2 separate regions of the Homo sapiens genome follow, and region 1 is linked to region 2. The links are contacts of gene promoters, found by promoter capture Hi-C in blood cells and fetal thymus (Javierre and others, 2016). All regions are on one chromosome and are shown on one strand. The core of a region is centred on a gene start or on the middle of the fragment in contact, and the rest is flanking DNA. Distances in the headings are between cores, read along the strand shown.

What was found. The method cuts DNA at HindIII sites, captures the fragments that hold promoters and counts their contacts. A CHiCAGO score of 5 or more calls a contact.
Region 1: a contact is called between a fragment that was not itself captured here and the fragment with the promoter of RRM1 in region 2, in 1 of 17 cell types (naive CD8 T cells). The highest score is 5.6, in naive CD8 T cells.

The regions. Positions count from the first base shown.
Region 1 is chr11:4,610,101-4,614,265 of GRCh38, reverse strand. No RefSeq gene overlaps it. Among named protein-coding and RNA genes, the nearest start is that of TRIM68, 4.0 kb to the right of the region's middle. The HindIII fragment of the contact is 4,051 bases long and covers 564-4,165 here.
Region 2 is chr11:4,092,476-4,096,859 of GRCh38, reverse strand. It overlaps RRM1 (ribonucleotide reductase catalytic subunit M1), which reads right to left and starts at 2,061. Exons shown (of 19, transcript NM_001033.5): 1 at 1,829-2,061. The coding sequence starts at 1,847. It overlaps STIM1 (stromal interaction molecule 1), which reads right to left. Exons shown (of 13, transcript NM_001382567.1): 13 at 3,652-4,384. RefSeq lists enhancers at 1,832-2,301, 2,362-2,431. The HindIII fragment of the contact is 7,950 bases long and covers 1-2,766 here.

The DNA of each region.
Region 1 (4,165 bases), core at 1,340-3,839, 520 kb before region 2:
TTAAAGTCATAGTTTACTACTTAGTAAAAGAGGTAACAACATTTATAGAAATTCTGGAGAATATAAAGTCTAAGTGAGGAGAAGCAAAAATCTGGGAAGATGTGTATATCCAAGAATAGGTCTCTGGGTCTCTGAAGGCTTGGGCTCTGGAATAAAACAGAAGCTTAGGTTCAGGAACCAGATGATCATGATTTTATAGCTCTCATGAATGTGGCCAGCAATAGTAAACCTCCCGTGGACAGCCAGACTCACAGACCTAAGGAAATCCAGCACAGGAAGAAGGCACTTTGGTGAAGAGCTAAAGAGTCCTTAGAAATTTGTGATAGATGCCATGAAATACAAAGAAAAGAGAGGTACTAAGAACTGTGGAAAATGTCAGGCCTTAAACTTTTTTTGAAATGTATTTTTGCTCAATAGAATGCATCTTGTTTGACATGGTGTGAATATATTTGTCCCTCTAAACTTTATATATTGGAACTTAGTGTGATCGTATTAAGTAATAGAGCCTTTAGGAAGTGATTAAGCCAGGAGGGCTCTGCCCTCATGAATGCGATTAGCAAGCTTATAAAAGGGCTGGAAGGGATGCATTAAGCCCTCTTGCCCTTCTGCATTTTCTGCCATGTGAAGACGAAGACACAGCATTCATCCTCTCTGTAGGGCACAGAGTTTAAGGTCCCATCTTGGAAGCAGGTACCAGGCCCTCACCAGACACCTAACCTGCCAGTGACTTGGTCTTAGGCTTCCCAGTCTCCAGAACTGTGAGAAATACATTTCTATTCTTTATCAATTACTCAGTCTCAGGTATTTTGTTATAACAGCATAAATTGACCAAGACACTGCCCAAAAGAATGTAGCTGTTTCTCCCTAAAGAATACTCTCAATGCTGCACTGGGGTGCTTGGAACAAAATGGACAAAGAGGAGATGGAAAAGGAAGTGTGGAGGTTTTGTAATATGCATAATACTTAAGGGAAGAATGGCATATTGCAAATTTTAATTTGAGAAAACAGAAGTGTTTCATACACCATTTCCTTCAAATAAAAAATTATTTAAATAGGTGGATTTTTTTCTCACATTGTAAGGAAATCATAGTTTCACTCTTCTTTTTATGTATTTATTTATTTATTTTTAATTTTATTATTATTACACTTTAAGTTTTAGGGTACATGTGCACAATGTGCAGGTTTGTTACATATGTATACATGTGCCATATTGGTGTGCTGCACCCATCACCTCGTCATTTAACATTAGGTATATCCTGAGTTAATTTCCGGGCTCTAGACACCAAACGATAGACACCAACTGACAAATAAAACAGTTCTGAAAACCTGAAACCATCAATCCTGTTTTTTCCCCTTGTGTTTCCTTTCTGGTCTCTCCCCAGAGAGCATTATAATTCTCTTTAAGGACTGTGGCCAGTGATGGCAATGTGGATCTAAATTTCTCTTTGACTAGGGAATGAGCTATTATACTATGTGGTAGCCATGTTTTGTTCTGAGGACTTACTTGTGTTTTCCAAGTTTTTGTGAATGTAGAGCTTGTGCTTGTGGTGGGTATTTGTCATTCACTGTAGCTGGCACTTGAGTGCTCTTCCTATGTTTGACCAATTTTCCTTTTCTTGGGGCGTCTACTTCTCCCAAAGAAAAGCCATAGAAGTCACCTTCCTACCTAATTAATCAGCTTTCATACCATGACAGAAAATCCAAAATCTCAGGGGCATACAACAAATGTTTTCACTCACACGTCATGTCCTTGGCTGCAGATAGGTTGCTAGGATCCCAGTCCACATGTCTTTGCATCCAGGACTCAAGCTGAAGCAGGAGCCCCTCTTTGTGATATGCCTTTATTGTGACAATGAGAAAACAACAAAAGGTGGTACAAACATGAAATGTCTCTTAGAGCTTCTCTATGGAACTGAAACACTTCCCTCCATTCCTATTTCAACGACCCAAGATGGTCATATAGCCAAGTCTCATAATGTCCTAGAAAGCATTCTCCAGCTATCGGGAAGCACTGTGAGTCATGAGGCAATGGATGAGATTGTATGTCCCCCTCACAAAAAGGGAGAAAATAGATGGGAATAATCACCCACCATGGGAGAAGGCATTTTGTCTAAGTGCTGTCAATCATGCACACCTCCAGGAAGCCAATTCAGAAGCTAGGAAAATAAAAGCAAAATGCCACATTGAATCATTCTGGTGAAGAGTGCTGACAGAAGAGTAAATCTTCCAGAGATATCAGAGGCAGAGATTCTAGTGTCAGTCTCTGCACCCAGGTTTAGGAGTGAGATCCTAGTTGACTATGCTCAATGGAGCCAGTAGTGGTAGTTCCATCAGAGTGGACCTATGGGGTAATTTGATGATGTTCCTGCATACATCATCAATGGACTACCAAATGTTCTTTAATAAGTCCTTTTTATGCTTAAAATAGGTTTCTGGCATTTTCAACTCTTGTTTTTAGTAGGCATTTTGATTGACTGGCTCTTCTCTCAGTTGTCTGCTATTCACGTGGCAATGAGTTAGGCCAAATCCCTACAAACACATTTTACACTCTGATAAGAAGACTATATAATTTAGTATTTTCCACTATAGAGAATATGCCTTCTCTTCCAGTACCTTCTGAACAATTATATAATGCAATTATATAGTTGGCCACAAAACAGTTTCCCAAATGATAAGTTATAATGGCATTTTTTAAACTCTTATTGCATTGTGGTTATAAAATGCTAACAAACCTAAATAAATTATATATATAGAGAGAGAATTTCAATTTAATTAAGTAATTTCAAGAGAAAAGCAAATTTGAAACTGTGCTTAATAATTTTTTTAATAACAAATGATAACGAAAGCACCAAGATGATTTATGGTATATAGCCTGACTTATATTTAGGGAAAACTTTACACTCCTCAATCAATGCAAGAAGCAAGAAAAATAAGACAATAAATATAAGTAAAATAAATCAAGAAAAAATAATAAAGATAAAATCAGAAAAAAATTGAAATAACAAATTAACAGGTTCTTTGAAAGGAACAATCAATTAGACAGATCTTTGGAAAGAAAGATATGTCACTCAGAAAAAAAAACATAAAGTAGTGGTAAATATATAATATCAGGGATTAGAATCAAGAAAAAAACTCAAAGTAATGGCAAATAAAAATAAAAATAATTATTTGTGTAATTGTTCATAACCATGGAGACACTGATACTTTGAGAATAGTAACTTACTGAAACAGATTCGACATTTAAAGAACTTGAATTAGACATCAAATACAAGGACATATAAAGCTACTTCTTCTTGTTTTAATCTAATGCAACTCTGATATCAAAACTAATAACAGCATTTGGCTTGTTCTGCTTCCCACTGTACAAAAGTCTTACTGTTAGTTGTGTGTCACTATTAACAATTGCTATTGTAATATACATCTATATTCTGATATATACCTTTTTATTTAGTTATTTATGTCTCTCTGTCTCATGCACACACACACACACACACACACACACATATGCTGCCATTTTCCTGTCCATGGCATCTCACACTGAAACTGCCCCACCACATCCTTGCTAGATCTTCCTATTACTGTTCCTTTCGTCTGCTTCTGAAATTGTTCTCTCTTTTCTACTTCCTGCTTCTTAATTTTTTGGAACACTTAAACTCTAATATAAAATCTAGGTGACAGCCTCAACCCAGAAGCACTTTCAGAAAGGCTCTCCACCACCTGTAGACAGAATTCTATGTTTTAATTTCTAGACTCACTTCCCCTTCCATCCCTGACCTCCTTCCTCTGCCAAAGTGAAAGTGGTAACGAAGTCCTGCAGATTTTCCCCTCTAGGCAGGAATTTCCTCTCTCTTAGCCAAGGCTAGCACTGAGTAGATAGGGACGGGAGGCCCTAATCTCCTACTTGGACTCCTGGGAGATGTCAGTTTTGCCTTCTGGAAACTGAAAACAATCTGGAATAGAGGAAACAGGAGGTATTAACTCCATCATAAGAGGTCCAGTAGGAGACTTTCAAGGTGGAGCGGGGTATCTACTCATGGTCTAGGCTATACTCCTACCCTCCTCCTTCCACCCCTAGCAGGTTCTCCTGCTGACTGACACACCACTAACACAGACAGCTATTTCTTCCCCTTTAAAGCCTTCAAGACTAAGATTATATTCTCATCAA
Region 2 (4,384 bases), core at 812-3,311:
ATAGACCATCCTAAACATCTCTCCCATATCTAAAGATTTAAAAAATAGATGCTCAAGCCAGGTGCGGTGGCTCCCAGCACTGTAATCCAAGCACTTTGGGAGGCTGAAGTGGGAAGAATGCTTGAGCCCAGGAGTTCAAGACAAGCCTGGGCAACATAGCGAGACTCCTTCTCTAAAAAAATACAAATAAATAATAATGTAAAAAAATAAAAATACAAAAATAGATGCTCAGCTCTCACTCTTATGAATGGATCAATAAAAGTGCACTATGTTATTTTGCTCTTTGGTCAGCTAAAATGTGAGCTAGGAAAATTCACAGAATGATGTTCTCAAGATACCAAAAACAAGAAAGGCCACTACTGTCCACCTTTCCAACTCTTGTCTGTAGTTAAACCAATCTGGACATTGGCTGTAGTTAAACCAAATCAACTACCTGCTTATTCACAGCATTCATCGTGTCCTACATTTTGATACAACTATTTTCATTCATTCTTTAAGAATCTGTTCATGTCAGGTCCTGTGCTAAACGTGAACAGAAAAGTCTCCATCTTGCTTGTATTCCCAGCACTTTGGGAAGCCAAGGAAGGGAGGATGGTTTGAGGCCAGGAATTCAAGGCCAGACTGGGAAACACAGCAAGACTCCTTTACTACCAGAAATTTTTAAAAATTAGCCACTCATGGTGGTGCATGCCTATAGTCCCAGCTACTTGAGAGGCTGAGGCAAGAGCATCGCTTGAGCCCAGGACTTCAAGGTTACAGTAAGCTATGATTACACCACTGCATTCCATCCTGGGTGACAGAGCAAGACTCTGTCTCAAACAAGTCTCCATCTTTGAAATGTTCACAGCCTAGAGGACAAAATAGAAACAACCAGTCGATTAACCAGTATTTACTAAGTGCCTACAATTTTGAAATCATTGTATTGCTTTAACAAAGGCAAGTAGGTTCAACTCAAAACTTGTTCATACGTATCTCATGCGGTTGTTAAAAGTATGTTGCTCTTGTTTTTCCAACCCGATGAAGCCTGTTCCCAAGGCAGGGACTGTCTCCTCCTACAATCTCACAAAGCCAAGCAAAGGGCTGGGCACAAAGCGGGCACTTGGCAAGTCTAATGAAAAAGAACTGTTGAGAAAGAATACGAGTTCCTGACTCTTCCCAGTCCCCATCTTGTCAGAAGATGTCTCAGCCACCCTTCTCTGATTCAGCATCTCTTCCCATGAAGGGAAAGGAACTCGAGGGTGCTGTCTGTCTGGGATCTGTTTTTTCCACGCCACACTCCTATCCTCACCCCACAAAAGAGATCAGTAAACTGACAAGTGCCTACGGAGGGTAGAGAGGCCCCCTCCTTCTTTCCTAGCTGCCCCCCGACCCTGTGCCTAAGACAGCTCACCAACCCCACGGTTTTCAAATCAAACCGTATTGTCACCTATGGGTGACTTTGGGTCAGTCGGCGACACCTCGCTCTGAGCGTCAGTTTCCTCATCTGTAATAAGCTAATCATCTCTCAGAGGCTTGCAGGGAGGAATAAAATAGTGCCTGGCAAGTGCTCGGCGTACGCAGTCACTACTCGATACGGGGTAAGTGTTATCCTTTTGAAAGGCGGCAGGATGACAAAGCCGAGGGGGCGCAGCCTGAAGGCCCGAAGGAGGTTCGGGGCAGGCTGACTGAAGACAGAAGGCCGAGCGGGCTGACAGGGCGGAAGGCCGCGGCGGGAAATGCGGGAAAGGCGGGAAGCAGCGAAGGCGGGCGGGCGGTCTGGGCATCAGCTCCGGCGGCGGCAGCCCGCATCCCCTCACCTTCCTTCTCGCCCACCTCGTCCCCCCCTCACCTCGCTTGATCACATGCATCGCAGCTAGTGGCTGAGGCTCTGAAGGATCCAAGACTGGACTGCGGCTCTAAAGCGCCGGCGGGATCGAGAAGGTGACAGAGTGGGAAGGGTTAGGTTCCAGGCGCTGCTCAGGGGAAAGAACTGGAGTTGGAGCCAGACAGCACTTTCTTCAGAGCAGAGGCGCAACAATCCAAATCCCCTTCCCGCGCCCGCCACCCGTGACGCACAAAGGGGCGCGACGGGGTTCGAATGACGTTACTCGACGCTGCGGCCCACGCCCGGGGTAGGCTTCACAGACTGACAGGCGACGTGTAGCCGCCATGTTGAGTCTGGGCAAGACCCAGAAGACTACGCCTCTCCCATGGGCCCCATTGGATATGGACATGCCCGGCGGAAATGCTGCTCTCCTGCTACCATGTTTTGTGTGGGCAAGCCGAGTTCGGGACCCTCGGGGCCCTGGCGTAGCACCTAGAGCCCGCTGGGTCAGGCGCCGCCCTCTCACCTGCGCGTCTCCGCCGGAGGAAAGGCGGTTAATTTATTTTTGAAATAACAAAACCTAACCGGCGGGAACGTTTTTCTTGCTCTGACATTTATTATAATAATACTAACACTGCCGTCCGCTGTGGGCTCCAGCCCAGGCTCCACAGCCGTGGGCAGCTTGGAGCCCCAGGGCTTTTAGATCGGCCAGAGGACTGACACTCTGGAACTGGAAGAAAACCGCGCAAGGCCGATGGCGTTTGGATTTTATCCTGACGCAAATCAGAGCCCTGAGAGAATTTTAAGCAGGGCAGGGTCAGTACCCATTTGCTTTTAGGGTTCTTCAGTGGATGGTGGCAGAGACAGGGTATTTGCCTTGTGGAGGTAGGATGGACTTGGTGACTTAGAGTGGAGAATAAGAATAGATGAGAACCGTAATATGTAAGGCTGGTGTAGAAGCTTCTGATTTGGGCTACCCAAAGCGATCTTTATGAAATTTCATCTGTGGCATCTTTTCCCTAAAGCCTTTTCGTTGGTTTCTCACTGCCCTCCAGAAGCTGCCCAGGCTCCCTGTGAAGTAATTTCAAAAATCATGGAAAGTCGTAAGTGAGCCTGTAATTGCAGCATTTTGGGAGGCTAAGGCGGGAGCATCATGTGAGGCCAGGTGTTGAGATAAGCCTGGGCAACATAGTGAGACCCCATTTCTACAAAAAATAGAAAAAGTAGGCCAGCGCGGTGCTTCACTCCTGTAATCCCAGCACTATGGGAGGCCAAGGCGGGCAGATCACGAGGTCAGGAGTTCGAGACCAGCCTAACCAACGTGGTGAAACCCCCCCGCTGCTAAAAATACAAAAAGTAGCCAGGCATGGTAGCACGCGCCTGTAATCCCAGCTACTCAGGAGGCTGAGGCAGAAGAATCGCTTGAACGCTGGAGGCAGAGGTTGCAGTGAGCCAAGATCGCGCCATTGCACCCTAGCCTAGGCAAGAGAGTGAGACGCCGTCTCAAAAAAAACAAAAAAAAAGAAAGAAAAATTAAATAGATATGTTTTTTAAAAGTCGTAAGTGAAGTTATAGGATAGATAGGGTCAAGTTTACCCAGACATAGGGTTTCCCAATTTAGCAAATAAAAATGTGTCCCAGATACTGCATGAGAGAAAATTATACTTTAAAAACTGTTTATCTGAAATTCACATTTAACTGGTCATCCTGCATTTATCTGGTAACCCTGCCCACAGAGCTTCTGGGCATGTGCATTCAAGTTTCATTTTCCCTGGGCAAAGGAAAGATTGTCTCTTTATCCCATCATGCCACAGCACAGAGAACACAATGAGAGTCAAAGCCAGCAGTGGTTAAAATCTCCTACATGCTTTATTGGACTTCAAAGAATTTTATGAAATAACACAGAAAACCCCATTTGAGGGTGTCCAGGGAGTACAAGGCAGTCTGCAGCCTAGCACCCTCCTAAGACCAGCCCCAGGTATACCCACCCCAGGCCCAAAATAGGATCCCAGGATAAAGGTATGGCAGGGAGTGGGGCAGAGGAAAAATACCTTTACAGCCATAGCAAAAACAGGTAAGGGAGAGAGTTGTCTAGAGGGTGGGAAGGGTGGGGGAAAGTGGTCACACAGCCGCCTTCACCTATACCATCTTCCTTAGCCACCCCTTCCCCAAACTGGTTGTGTCCTTTTTGAGCCTCTGGCCAAGGCTACAAAGTAACATGAAAATGGGATCTAACAAGGGGAATATGCAGCGTAGGCACTTGGGAAATTCAGATTACTTTTTTTCCTTTTAACCTGTTTGTCTTTTGGTTCAAAAAATGACAGCATCCTTGCCCAACAACTCCAGGGCTCCATAAGAGCCCTGTATCATGGCTGTGGCTCTCCTGGCCAGGGGAGCCACTTGTCCTGAGCCCTAGGAGTATTGATGCTTGGGGAGCTTTGGGGCAGCACCTCTTAGAGACAAATCCTCCTGCAGTGTGGGGGAGCAGGGGTAAGAGGGAGGCAGGTGTGGGTGGGAGTAGAGAGAAAAAGTGACTGCCTTATAACCTACAGTTCTGGCATCCACTCATGCTCCAATGAA